Regions from separate parts of the Homo sapiens genome. Here regions 1 and 2 are each linked to region 3. The links are contacts of gene promoters, found by promoter capture Hi-C in human tissues and cell types (Jung and others, 2019). All regions are on one chromosome and are shown on one strand. Each heading gives the region's core, a stretch centred on a gene start or on the middle of the fragment in contact. The rest is flanking DNA. Distances are from core to core; before and after follow the strand shown. Region 1 overlaps RTCB (RNA 2',3'-cyclic phosphate and 5'-OH ligase). Region 2 overlaps SYN3 (synapsin III). Region 3 holds the start of SYN3 (synapsin III).

What was found. Contacts are between HindIII fragments. The study calls those that stand out against the background at their distance.
Region 1: a fragment that was not itself captured here is called in contact with the fragment with the promoter of SYN3 in region 3 in 2 of the 25 tissues and cell types used here (dorsolateral prefrontal cortex and mesendoderm cells).
Region 2: a fragment that was not itself captured here is called in contact with the fragment with the promoter of SYN3 in region 3 in 1 of the 25 tissues and cell types used here (mesendoderm cells).

Annotation. Positions count from the first base shown.
Region 1 is chr22:32,405,645-32,410,143 of GRCh38, forward strand. RTCB (RNA 2',3'-cyclic phosphate and 5'-OH ligase) reads right to left here. Exons shown (of 12, transcript NM_014306.5): 2 at 3,111-3,189; 3 at 2,531-2,598; 4 at 1,018-1,117. Among named protein-coding and RNA genes, the nearest start is that of RTCB, 4.4 kb to the right of the region's middle. The HindIII fragment of the contact is 5,840 bases long and covers 1-4,499 here.
Region 2 is chr22:32,543,379-32,547,828 of GRCh38, forward strand. The region is part of intron 7 of SYN3 (synapsin III); the gene reads right to left. LOC124905103 (a long non-coding RNA gene) reads left to right here. Exons shown (of 3, transcript XR_007068067.1): 3 at 2,738-4,450. Among named protein-coding and RNA genes, the nearest start is that of SYN3-AS1, 29 kb to the right of the region's middle. The HindIII fragment of the contact is 3,664 bases long and covers 524-4,187 here.
Region 3 is chr22:33,055,730-33,060,248 of GRCh38, forward strand. SYN3 (synapsin III) reads right to left here and starts at 2,652. Exons shown (of 14, transcript NM_003490.4): 1 at 2,563-2,652. The HindIII fragment of the contact is 13,516 bases long and covers 1-4,519 here.

The DNA.
Region 1 (4,499 bases), core at 484-2,983, 650 kb before region 3:
CTTGACTTCGCAAATTCTTACTGCCTTAGCAGATTTTCTGTGCCTTCAAACAGATTTAAGAAAAAATTTTTTACCCAGCCTTTCTAATTATTTTCAGCAGGGGATTGGTCTGAAACAACCTAGTCCACCACTGCTAGAAACAGAACTCTCAAGATGTCATTTAAACTTCATTTCTAAATTCACACTCTTTAACAGCAAAGATATTACTTCTGATATAGAATGTTTATTGAAAGCACCCCATAACCACAGCAGAAGGCGTATGCAACCTTCTGTATATTCAATGTTATCATTGAATAACAATGATAGTATTACTGAATATGTTCTACCTGCTTAGCACTGTTCTAAATATTTTACACAGCTGAACTCATCTAAGCTACTAATACTGTGTGGTCATTAACATTATTAGACGTGATCTGTCCACGAGGTAACTGATTTACAAAGATAAAAAAAAATTGCCAGTTTGTTTTGTAGCCAAAGTCTGAATACCATGATGTTTGGTAGGAGCCTCCCAAAATTTTCAATAAAAATATGCTTTGCTTGAAGTTGTAATAGCCTCTCAGTATCCACAAGCAATACTTCCAGTAAATATCAAAGAAAAATGACAGAACATGATGAGACTGAGTCATGCACATGGAGAGAAGTGCTCTGTTTCACAAAGGCTATGGTCCATAGAGAGAAGCTACACACATTTTTTTTTGAGATGGGGTCTTGCTCTGTCACCAGGCTGGAGTACAGTGGCACGAACTCGGCTCACTGCAACCTCCGCCTCCCGGGTTCAAGTGATTCTCCTGCCTCAGCCTCCCAAGTAGCTGGGAGTACAGGTGCGCGTCACCACCCCCAGCTAATTTTTCTATTTTTAATAGAGACACGGTTTCACCATGTTGGCCAAGATGGTTTTGATCTCTTGACCTCATGATCCACCCGCCTCGGCCTCCCAAAGTGCTGGGATTACAGACGTGAGCCACCGTGCCCGGCCAATGCTACACACTTAACAGCAGATGTCCACAGTGATCTTACCTGGGGATACTACTGCTTCAGGGTCATTCATATCAAAGGCTGCCATGTTCCCAATAGCAAACCCATATCCTGAATGGACATCAGGAAGCCCAATAGATCGCTGAAAAAGAATTAGAAAATGAAATACAAGTGTCTTGACCTGCTACCCTGGATGCCCTGATGGACCTGACACTGATTCTCAAACAGGTTGCAGGCTGAAGCTTTCCCTAAATCAAGACTGTGTTTTCACAAAATCTTCTATATGCATGGAAATAGTAAGAACTCCTAATCACAAAGCTAAATACAGTGAGAAAAAAACTTTTTTATAAGATCTGAATGTTAATTAAGGAAATACAAAACAGAAAAGCCTCAAAATAACATGATATAGGAGTAACACATACTAAGTTTAATGTACTATTACATTTTAAAAATAATCTTAAGACACTGACAAACTTTGGTTTGTCAGGTTAAGAAGAGGAAAATAACTGATTTATATAGGTCATTAGTTTAAGTAATCACAGCCAAATGTAATCCATTTGATGGTATAAATACTGTAGACTTCCTACATGTGGAGCCTAGAAAAGGACCCTGACCCAGGAAGAATGCAGGTCAAACACAGGATATATGGAGATACCCAGACACTAACAACTTCCTTATATACACAAGCCATACCATTTCATTCCCTCTACCAAGTGCCCAACATGGTAACTGGCATAAAGAAGACCTCAAAAATGTCTGCCGAATAGATCCATTTTCAACATCTACCTCTGATAGAATATGAATGTTAAACTGTGGTGGGGGCTATGCTGTCCTCTCTTCCTCCCCCTCAGTGCTAACCCTTAAACTTCTTGCCATTTCTTCTTCAATGATCCTCTGCATAGGAAGTGAAACTTACAACCAAGCGAAACTTACAATGAAACTTACATTGAAACAGTGAAGTGAAACTTACAATGAAACTTACAATGGTGGTGCACTGATCCAGGAATAATGTTACCATGATAAGAAACAAAACACAAAAACTACTTCGAAGGTTCTTAACACTTACAGATTCTAGCCAAATGCATTCAGAAACTGAAATACCATCCAGATTCAATTATTTCTTTAGGTCCATGGTTATTTCCTTTTATTTTTTATTTTTAGGGACAGGGTCTCACTCTGCCATCCACGCTAAAAGTGCAGTGGCGTGATCATGGCTCAGTGCAGTGTGGAACTCTGGGCTCAAGCAATCCTCCCACTTAGCATTCTAAGTAGCTGGGACAACAAGCATGTGACATCACACCTGACTAATTTTTTTGGTATAGACAGGGTCTTGCCATGTTGCCCAGACTAGTCTTGAATTCCTGGGCTCATGCAATCCTTCCATCTTGGTCTCTCAAAGTGTTGCGGGTGGCATGAGCCACTGAGCCTGGCTTCATGGTTATGTCTGGCTGTCCAAAGGTCATTGTCTAAATGACACCACTATCAGGCATGGCCATTCATCCATTCAATGGACTTTAAGAAATATAAATGATTAAAGTTCTGAACTCTGACTCACATGAACAATTCCAGGCAGGGCTGCCACATTGCCAATCTGTTTCATGGCTGGCAGGAAGCCACCAACACCTGAAGACAAAAATTGGGTATTAGAAAAGACAACACACTTGATTTTTAGCATGAATTATATTCATGTTTTTAGACTGTATAACGTGAAGAGGTAGTCATTAGGGCTACTAAGACAACAAAGCCTAGAAGGATGTTTGAGATGCAAGATGGAAGGGAGCTCCTTTTAGAGTCACTGTAAGTATTGCATGAGATAATCTCTGCAAAGCACCTAGTAACATGCCTGGAATATAGTAAGTGCAAAACAAATGGTAGGTCACTTGCTATTATTGTTCAAGGTTAGCTGAGAAACAAGTTCTACCCAGCTTCAAATTCCAGATGGAGCTTCAAATCCGTTCTATAACGCCAACTGGCTGACAATGTGATCACAAATAAGTAAGTGCTTTTGGTCTTACTTTTAAGTTGTAATCACTCCTTGACAATATTTCAGAATTATAATTATTTGAGTTGCCACTTTTTCAGGCCACAGGGAAGGCACTACCGTACTAACACAAGTGAAACTCTAATGTACTTACCACCACCTCGACAGGCATTCCTTAATTCCTCAAACATCAATTTCTCCAGAGCATCATTCACATAGAAAACACCTTCAACCTAGTACCAAGGAAAGTGAAAAGCAATGTCTGAGTACATGCGCGGCAAGTGTAGGCACTGGACAGAATGCACTGTATGCAATATTTACTGTGCTTTACTCTTTACCAAACACTTTCACGTTACCTTAAGCACACAGAAAACTTCCTATCAAAGACTACGAGCTGCTCCCATCGGAAAATATACCTTAAGAAAAATTCTGCAATGTTCACAAATTGTTTTGTTTATTCTCATACCCTCAAAACCACATTTAAGAATTCAACAGATTCAGCATCTTTTTGTGATAAAGAAAAATCTTCCAACTATACTCTCACAAAGCCCAAAGGTCTTAATCCTCAAGCTTCAAAAATATCAATGGTTTTTTGAAAATTAAAAAAAAAAACCAAATGAATCAAAAAGTCCAATTCTAAACATAAAACGTAGTCATCTAACCTAGTATGTTTATTCTGTGTTTAAGCCAATAGCAAATTACATTTTATTGTGCTCTAGTGGTGACTTACAAATCTCTAGTTAGGTAAATAGTGAGAAGAAAAATTTAACATGCAGCTACGTAGTTGTGTGCTCAGTTCTGAAAGCTATATAATTTTTTAAAAAATCTATAATTTTAAAGCTTGACAATAGAGGCAGCACACAGAAGGCAATGGACGACATACTTATGTAACACTAAAGAGCAGAACATTTTTATCACAGGTCAAATATTGTGAAAGAGCTGTCCAGTAATGGAGAACCAAAGATTTAACACTTAATCAATTGAATGTAGTTTTTATCAGAAAGATGACTTCATCACCATTGCATAAATAACAATTTAATACCCACTGATGGAAAATATTTCCAGTATAATTTCTTAAGGGTCACATTTATTAATTCACCAAACATTAACTGAGGATTTACTATGCATGAAGCACTGTCCTGGGCACTAGGGGAGATAGAAAGAATATAAGATCTTCCTTTCAAGGAGCTCCCAGTACACAATACAGCTCTTATATACTTTTGTTTTTTTTTTTTGAGACTGAGTCTTGCTCTGTCACCCAGGCTGGAGTGCAGTGGCATGATCTCGGCTCACTGCAAGCTCTGCCTCCTGGGTTCACGCCATTCTCCTGCCTCAGCCTCCCGAGTAGCTGGGACTACAGGTGCCCGCCACCACGCCCAGCTAATTTTTTGTATTTTTAGTAGAGACGAAGTTTCACGTGTTAGCCAGGATGGTCTCGATCTCCTGACCTCATGATCCGCCCATCTCAGCCTCCCAAAGTGCTGGGATTGCAGGCGTGAGCCACCGCACCCAGCCAGTACAGCCCTTATATTCTGATAAGAAT
Region 2 (4,450 bases), core at 1,106-3,605, 510 kb before region 3:
TCTCAGGGGTCTGTAAGTAGGTGCCTGCCTGTTCTACCACAACGGACCTAAACAGCAACAGGAGAGAGGCTGGAAAAGCCATCTCTCTTCTTGGCTCTCTGAGTGATGACTCCAGGTCTCAATTTGCAGAGAAAATAAAGGTGACCAGGCAAGAGTTCCCTATTTTCCAGCCCTTTTCAAACTCAGCTACCCCACTTCTTCCTCCCAGCTGCAGTGGCGGTGGTGTGCCTCCTTCCTTTGTTCTGGGCCTTCTAAGCCCTTGGTTTTAGCTGGGTACCTGGCCTCCTCAGCCAGAGATTACTTTGCTCCAGTCTGTCGTGCGGGTAGATGTGCCTGAGTCTCCAAGCTCTGGCCGGTGAAACCTGGGTAGCCGTGATATTAGCAACCTCTGGGTGGTGCCCTGAAGATGAAAATAATCTTCCCCGTCCTTTTTCCTTCTTTGCTCTGGCAGGGAATGTGAACATGATGGTATGAGCAGCAGCCTCCATCTTGGGCCATGAGATGGAAGCTGCATGTTGAGGATGGCTGAGTAGAAAGATGGAAGGACCTGGGTCACTAGCACTGTGAAGCTCCCTTTCTGAGACAGGGTCTCAATATGTTACTCAAGCTGAGTGCTGTGGCATGATCATGGCTCACTGCAGCCTTGACTTCCTGAGCTCAAGCAATTCTCCTGCCTCAGCCGGCCGAGTAGCCGGGACTACAGGCGTGCACCACCATGCCCGGCTAGTTTTTGATTATTTGTAGAGACAGGGCCTCACTATGTTGACCAGGCTGGTCTCAAACTCCTTGGTTCAAGCGATCTTTCCGCCTCGGCCTTCCAAAGTGCTGGGATTACACACTCGAGCCACTGCGCCTGGCCCCTATTATGTGGGTCTTTGTTAAAGCAGCCAAATGACATTTCTGCTCATTATTTTTACTCTCTTGCTTTTCATTGATTCTTTATTCTTTGGATTAACGTGATCAAGGATCCACCATTCTCCTCAACATGTTCCTGCTTTTCAGAACCTCAGTTACGCACCACTGTCTATCTCTACATCTTCATTCCCCACTTGCCCCTCAACCCACTTTCTTTAGGTTTTACTCCCTACCATTCTCCTGAGACTGATTTGGCCAAGGTCCCTTTTAGTCCACTCTTTGGCAAATCCCATAGAATGCCTCTGGTCCTTGCCCTGCGTTGACCCTCTGTAGCACCTGAAATTAGTGAACTTTGGGAAATATGATTTCTGTACCACTGTTTTCCCAGTTCTCACCCTTCTTTCTGGCAACTTCTTCACAGTCTATGTTGCCACCTCTTCTTCCAATGCCCCTTTGATTATCCTGGGGTTTCATCTCAGCCAGTATTCAGGGTCAGGTGGAGAGAATCGGAATTGCCAAAATGAAAGAATCGGGTGAGCGTTTGCAGGGACGGCTTGTTTAACTCACATTTCTGTCCTTGGTGGCCTTGGAAAGAACCAGAATTTCTTTGGCACCTTGGTTTCCTAGACAGCCCTGAGCACAGAGTGGGCTACCTCGGAAGTGTCTAGCTGTCCACAGCATCATTTTCCTGCTTTACAGTCATGATGCACCCTGATATGGGGGGCATGTGTCCATCCAGGGTACACTTTACACTCTCTCCTCTCCCTGGCATCTTCATACCGCTGTGTGGCCACATTTTGGCCAACAAGATGTGAGCGGAAGAGGTGTATGAACTTCCAGGCTGTGCCGTTAAAGGGCAGGGGAGGGCTTTGTACTCCTCGCTTCTCTCCCCTTGCTGGCTGGAGTGTGGACCATCTTTGACAGTGTAGCTGAGGGCAACACACCAGGCATGGATGATCAGTAAGATGGAAGAAGTCCATGGTCATGAAACCATGGTAGTTCCAGGCCAGCCCTGGGCTGCTTTTGTGCAGAGCAGAGAAAGAAAGTCCTAGTTTGTTTATGCCTTTGTAAGTCTTTGTTATGGCAGCTGAAATTTATCCCAATTATTATACAAGCCCTAAGTAAATTTTTGTGGAATACATCATGCATTCTTTCACAGAGTAGACAAAGAGAGCAAAGGGAGAAAGCACAGACATAGTGGTTTAATGCAGGAGTGGGCAGGCGCCCTCTGGGAACCCTTCTCTTCTGTCTTCGTTTGAGTGGTTGTGCACTGGGGTCCCATTCTGTTGTCACCAACAGTGAGCATGGAACCCAGGTCTCTCTCTCTCTCTCTCTTTTTTTTTGAGACAGTCTCACTTACTCTGTTGCCCAGGCTGGAGTGCAATGGTGCAATCTTGGCTCACTACAACCTCTGCCTCCTGGATTCAAGCGATTCTCTTGCTTCAGCCTCTCAAGTAGCTGGGACTACAGGTGCGTGCCACCATGGCTGGCTAATTTTTGTATTTTTAGTAGAGACGTGGTTTCACCATATTGGCCAGGCTGGTCTTGAACTCCTGACCTCAAGTGATCCACCCACCTCAGCCTCCTAAAATGTTGGGATTACAGGCGTGAGCCCGGGTATCTTATACACAGGCATTTCAAAGCTTCAGGAGAGGCCCTGGCCAAATGTTCCTTTTTATTTTATTTTCTATTTCTATTTATTTATTTTTTTAAAGAGACAGGGTCTCACTCTGTCACCCAGGCTGGAGTGCAGTTGTGCAATCATGACTCACTGCAGCCTTGAACTTCTGGGCTCAAGCATTCCTCCCACCTCTGCCACTTGAGTAGTTGGGACTACAGGCGTCACCACATCCAGCTGATTTTATGTTCTTTTTCTTTACAGAGGGTCTCCCACATTGTATGACACCTGGGCAATAAAAAACGGATTCTACCCCTGGAACCACCATTTCTGTCTCCCCATTAGACTGTGAGCTTCTTGAGGACAGACGAGTGTTGTCCCCAGCTGTTGCACTGGTGCCAAGCAGATTGTACATGCTCTACACAAGTTTGCTGGATTGAATTTAAGAAGGTTGGATCAAGACCTGCTTATAATTTGGGAGGGGGGCAAGAAACTAGAAGGAAAAACAAGAGAGTTCCAAAAAAAGGCAAAGAAACTGTTTCAAGGAAACTTGTCTTTTATAAGGTGGATATTTCCATGCATTCTTGGGTAGGTGCTACGCTCTCTGAGGGTTACTGCCTGCCTCACAAGTTCTTGAGAACCGGAAGAATTCCAGGATTCTGGCGAAGAGGGGAGGTGGTCTGGAGCCTCGGTGGGTGGGTGCTGGAGGGGACTCTGGGATGGTCCTCAGGCCAGAGAGGGTAGTTGGGGTGAGAGGGCACTGGGGACACAGCCCTGAGGATGGTGAAATGGCTGCTAGCCTGGGCAGGGAGTCTTGGCACTCCGCTTTATTTACTGGCTGGAAATCCCTCCAAGGGTTCACAAAGACAAGCTGAAAACAGGAAGCCCTCAATGAGCTGTGATTCAAGATTACCCATTTGCTGCCCCAGGGGCTATGATGGGGCCACTGTGAACTCTCCAAAACAGACCCACCCACACCCTTGCCTCCCTCGCCCCTCTTCTCCCTTCTCTTATCTCCTCTCTCCTTCTCTCTCTCCTTTCTCTTGCGTCCTTGCCTTCTCACTCTCTCCTCCCTCCCTTTTCTCCCCTTTCCTCTAACACTCCTTGCCTTCTCTCTTACTCTGTTTTGTTTTTTTGTTGATGTTGAGACAGAGTCTCTCTCTGTCGCCTAAGCTGGAGCGCAGTGGCACAGTCAGGGCTCACTGCAACCTCTGCCTCCCAGGTTCAAGCAATCCTCCACCTTAGCCTCTTGAGTGGCTGGGACTACCGGCGCATGACATCACGCCTGGCTGTTTTTTCTTTGTCGTATTTTTTGTAGAAATGAAATTTCCCCATGTTGCCCAGGCTGGTCTTGAACACGTAGGTTCAGGCGATCCTCCCACCTTGGCCTCCCAAAGTGCTGGGATTACAGGCATGAGTCACCATGCCCGGCCACTCTTCCTTTTGCTTTTAATGCCATCTGTTTCCCTCTTGCACCTCTTTCCTCCTTGATTTTTCCTTGTTGCTTACTTCTTCTCTTATCTTTCTCCAGCCTCTCCCTTCCACCTCCTTCTCTGTCTCCTTCAGTTTTCCTGACCTCTTTTCAATGTTGCCATTCTTCTTCTCCTTCTCATTTCTTCTTCATTCCTTCCTCTCTGTCTTTCCTGCCTCCTTCCCCTCATGGTCTCCCCATTCAGGTTCTCACACTCTTCTCCTCTCTTGCTTTCTGAATTGCTTTACCCTCTTGTGTGCTTGTGTGCACACATGTGTGTATGTGAGTGTGCATGCATGCATGTGTGCTCTGTCCTGAGGCTGAGCAAGGAGGGAGAGTGGAAACAGAGGCAGAGAAAGTGGAGAGAGGAGTCAGGATGCAATTCCAAATCTTCTGAATGGGTTTTGGCTCAGAGGTCTCCTGTTCCAAATTACAAAATCCAACCCGGGATGGGAAAGTCATCTACATACTTAGTAGACTGTCTGCTATTTGCTTGAATATCTCCA
Region 3 (4,519 bases), core at 1,402-3,901:
TTGGACAAAGAGCCTGTTATTCTCTATCACATACTGGCTATGCAATGCAATGTTCCACCCCTCAACACTTGCTTTTGATGAATCCAAGCATTTAATGTCTATCTCCTCTAATAGACTGAGCTTTCTCCCCATCACCTAGGATAGCGCCTACTCCTTAAGAGACACTCAATACACATTGATTGATTAATTAGTGGATGAATGAATGATTAATCAATCAATCCACCAATGAAAGCACTTTGGAAAGTGTAACAAATCATAGAGTTGTGAGTGATTGTTATTATTATAATTATTATTTTGTGGCAAAAGAACATCAACTTGGTTGGGTTTTGGAAGAGACTGGGTTTACTATAAAATGAGAATAAAAGTACCTAAGTTGGAGTATTATTGGACAACTAGAAGAGAATGTATATACATAATAGACACTCAAAAAAGGGAAGCAGTAGTCTTCGTGGCTATTATTATTAAAAGCTCCTCACAAAAGCTGACTCAACTCGAATTCCAAAACTCATTTTCAGGTGCAGTCATGAAACTTAAAGGTGAGAGAAATGAATACTTTTAAGATATCTACTATGCACCAGGCACAGTACAAAGCACTACTTCATTTGTGAGGTAGTGTAGTGGATACCGTGGGGAAATGCTCAACTCCCCCTCCAAGACCAAGACACTCATGACTTCCCCATGTCCAGCTGCCAGAGTGTTGGTTACCCCAGCTCCCAGGTGAGTCCCTAGTCAGGAACTGTCCTGCTGAAGGGACATCCTAGCTCCCTCCCTAGGACCAGCCTGCACCCACTGGCTGATCAACATTAAGCTTCAAAGGCCTCGTCTCTTTGTCTCATGGGAGGGATTGAGACCTCTCTTGCACTGCACCATAGATCAACATCTCCCTCTGCCCAGTTCTGCTTCCCTTATCTGCACAAAAATCTCAGAAGCGCCAAGTCTTTTTCCAGGGAACCCAAACCATGACAGGTGAGTACAATGATTTCCTTTTAAATCAGAAAAAGAAGGTTCATGAAGGTTGCTAATGTCCCCAAAGCCTATGGCTAAAGTGACTTTCTGGTCTGATTTCCCAGCGAGCCCTTGTTCTTTCTACTACACCAATCTACACACAGCCTTGCCTCCAATGGCTGAGACTGGATCTCTGTGAAACAGAAAGGGGAGCCCAGGCAGAGGGGAAGGGCACACAGAGGGCTTGAAGATGAGAAAAGAAGAGCAGAGGCACCCTTCAGAGGCCTGATGACAAGACTGAGGTCACAGGCTCCAGAAACAATATCAAAATGATGTGCAGGCTGCAGAAGCAAGCATTACACGGGCAGCATCTCTTTGCCTGAATCCATGTCCAGAAGCCAGGGAGCAGGGCTCCCGGGCAGAGGGGGCTCCCTTAAGCAGGGAAGAGTATTTGCAGCCAAGGACCAGAAAACAACTACAACTTACCAGCTTTCTGATGCTCCGGCCTCCATCCATTGTCCCCAGAGCTGCCAGAGGGACCTGATCACTGATCAGAATTCTTCCACGGCCCTCCTTCATTCCAGGATAAAATTCTAAATATTCTAAGGCTGCACTTTAAGGTCTGTGCAGGTTTTAGCTTCCTGCCATGTCGAGAGCTCATTTCCTACCTACAGCAAGACCCGGTCCTACTCCATTATCTGCTGTAGAATTATCTGATGTGCTAGGTCAGGACACCGGACCTTTTCAGTTTCTTTACCTTTACACAAGAAAACCCACCTGGAATTCCTGCTCCCTATCAACTCACAGTCCCAACACACTTTTCAGCCTGGCAAAACCTCCGACTTCCAGTCAATGCTCACCTCCTCTCTGAAACCTTCCTGGCTTCCTCACCGTCCTCTTCTCCATCTCGAGTCTTCCGCACTACCCTGCACTGCAATTGCTCCTCCTACTGTCCCTCTTAGCCCCAGAAGCTCCCCAAAGGCCATTCTTCATGCTGCTAGGGCTTGGCACAGTTCCTGGCACTCAGAAAAAGCCAAGTAAGTGCTGGATAGATACACGAGGTGCTGTATCCATAGCTATTCTCTGCTTCTAGCTTGGCCAGGAAACCACTCTGAAATTTCATCCTGCCCCCAGGATGACTGGAAATCGGAAATGGCATGACAAACCTGACCTCCCAAACCCAAGGCAACAGGTCATGAGGGGTCTGGGGACCTAAGGCAGGTCCTAGGAGCCGGCGCAGAGCAGAGGTCCGGCCGCTGCGGTTCCTGGTTTCCCGCAAGCTCTTCCCCGGGCCGGGCGCTGGGTGGAGGCAGTCTTAGGATCCACAGTCTTGCGCGCCCCCGGCTCCCGGGCCCGGCAGACGGCCCCCGCACGCCGATCTGTCTGTCCCAGGGACCGGCCCAGGGCCCCGGCAGCGGCAGCCTGGGGAGACACCGTGGTGCGCGGCTCCTTGCCTCCCTCCCTGCCCCTCCGTGCGCCCGCATCCCGCGGACACAGAGCCGGAGCTCCAGGGGACGCAGCCCGACGCGAGAACGCACCAGCAGCCCCCGCTCGAGGTGGGGTCTCCCGGCTGTCAGAAACCCCACAAAGTCTACTTTGCGGCGCCGCGCCGCTTACCGTGCGAGCCGCCAGGAACTCGGCGCCCGGTGGTGCCTCGGCGCGGCGCCCGCCAGTCGATCCGCTCCGGGTCCCGGGAGCTCAGCCTCTGCCCCTCAACGCGCGCGAGCGCCCCCGCCCGGCGGCCCGGCCTCCCCGCGCCGCGGCGCCCCATTGGCTCGGGCAACGAGGCCCCCGGACGGCCCCGCCCACCCGCGCCCACTCCCTCGCCCACGCCTCTCCCCAACGCCTTGCTGGGTTCACCTCTCCAGGCAGGGAAAGTTGCTTCTAGACTCTGAGCTCTCACCGGACTCAGGAGCCCAGTTAGCTAATAATTCTGGGTCCCAGGAGTGTCTAGACGCCCCTCGGGGAGTGCGAAGAATGCAGTGTCCTTGGAATCCACCTTTGGGAAAGTCAGCTGACCTCCCGGACCTCAGGTGGCACCTCAGAGAAACCAGGGCCCCTTGTCAGGAAATGTCCCAGGTTGTGGGCTAGGCCCTAGGGCCAGGATGCAACAGGGAACAAGACAAAGTCTATCGTCCTCGTGGACTTTGCATGGGGTGGAGGTGGGGGTAGGTTATATACAACAAACGAAAAAAACAAGAGAATGTCGGCTGGGTGCCTGTGGCTCACGCCTGTAATCCCAGCACTTTGGGAGGCCGAGGCAGGTGAATCACGAGGTCGGGAGTTCAAGACCAGCCTGGCCAAGATGATAAAACCCCGTCTCTACTAAAAATACAAAAATTAGCTGGGCATGGTGGCCCTCACCTGTAGTCCTAGCTACTCGGGAGGCTGAGGCAGAATTGCTTGGACCCGGGAGGTGGAAGTTACAGTAAGCCGAGTTAGAGCCACTGCACTCCAGCCTGGGCAACAGAGCTAGATGCCGTCTCCAAAAAAAAGAAAAGAAAAAGAAAGGGGTCTAGGACTGCTATACCTAGGGTGGTCTCCGGGCCGCTTGTGATATTGGATACTTGGAGGACAAAAACGATTCCAGGGCTGAAGCAAGAGCATTGCTGACAGAGGGGTCGGCCGATGCATGGTTCTGAAGCTGGAACTGGCCCCCAGGGTGGCTGAGTGAGGTGAGCAAGGGGAGAGTGGGTTACAGCCAGAGAGGTAGACTAGTGTGGAATCACCATCACCCAGAACCTTGTAGGCCACCGTGAGGGTCAGGGCTTTGTCATATCAATCTGGAGGGAACAATTCAGGCAAGAGATTATGGTGATGAAGACCAGGGTGGTGACAGCAAGATACGGAAAAGGTGGACCTCCTGCAATGTGTGTCAAAAGTAGCACAGGAAGGCTTGATGATGGATTAGGCTGGATTTAGGGGATGCTATGGTTTAAATATGTTCCCCAAAGTTCATATCTTGGAAACTTAATCCCCAATGCAACAGTGTTGAGAGGTGGGACCTTTAAGAGGTGATTCCATTAATGCCAGGAGTGGCCCTCTCCCCACCCCTCTGCTGCTCTCTTGTTCTGCCTTGTGCCATGGGGTGACTCAGCATGAAGGCCCTTACCAGATGCAGCCCCTCAATCTTGGACTTCCCAGCCTCCAGAGCCATGAGCTAAATAAATTGTTGTTCCTTATAAATTACCCAGTCTGTGATATTCTGTTATATTGGCACAAAATAGACTATGACAGGGGTTGACGTAAAGGGATGAAAGAAGAAAATCTCCTAGGTGTTTAGCTTGAGCCACTGTGGAGTAATGGTACTATTTCCAAGATCGGGAAGGTTCTTACCCAGCATCTTCCACTTACTGCATGAGCGTTAGTACATGATCTCAGTAACTAAGAGGGAGTGACTCTAACCTCAGTAACTAAGAGGGCATAAGACTAGCTGAAGGATCACAAACTTTAATACCGACGTGGCCGGGTAGTCATGTACTAAGTGAGGTTGGCAGGGTATAATAGAAAGGAGGGATGGGGCTTGTGACAGACTGAGGTATGCACACCTGCCTAAGGTGACAGTCACTGCTCA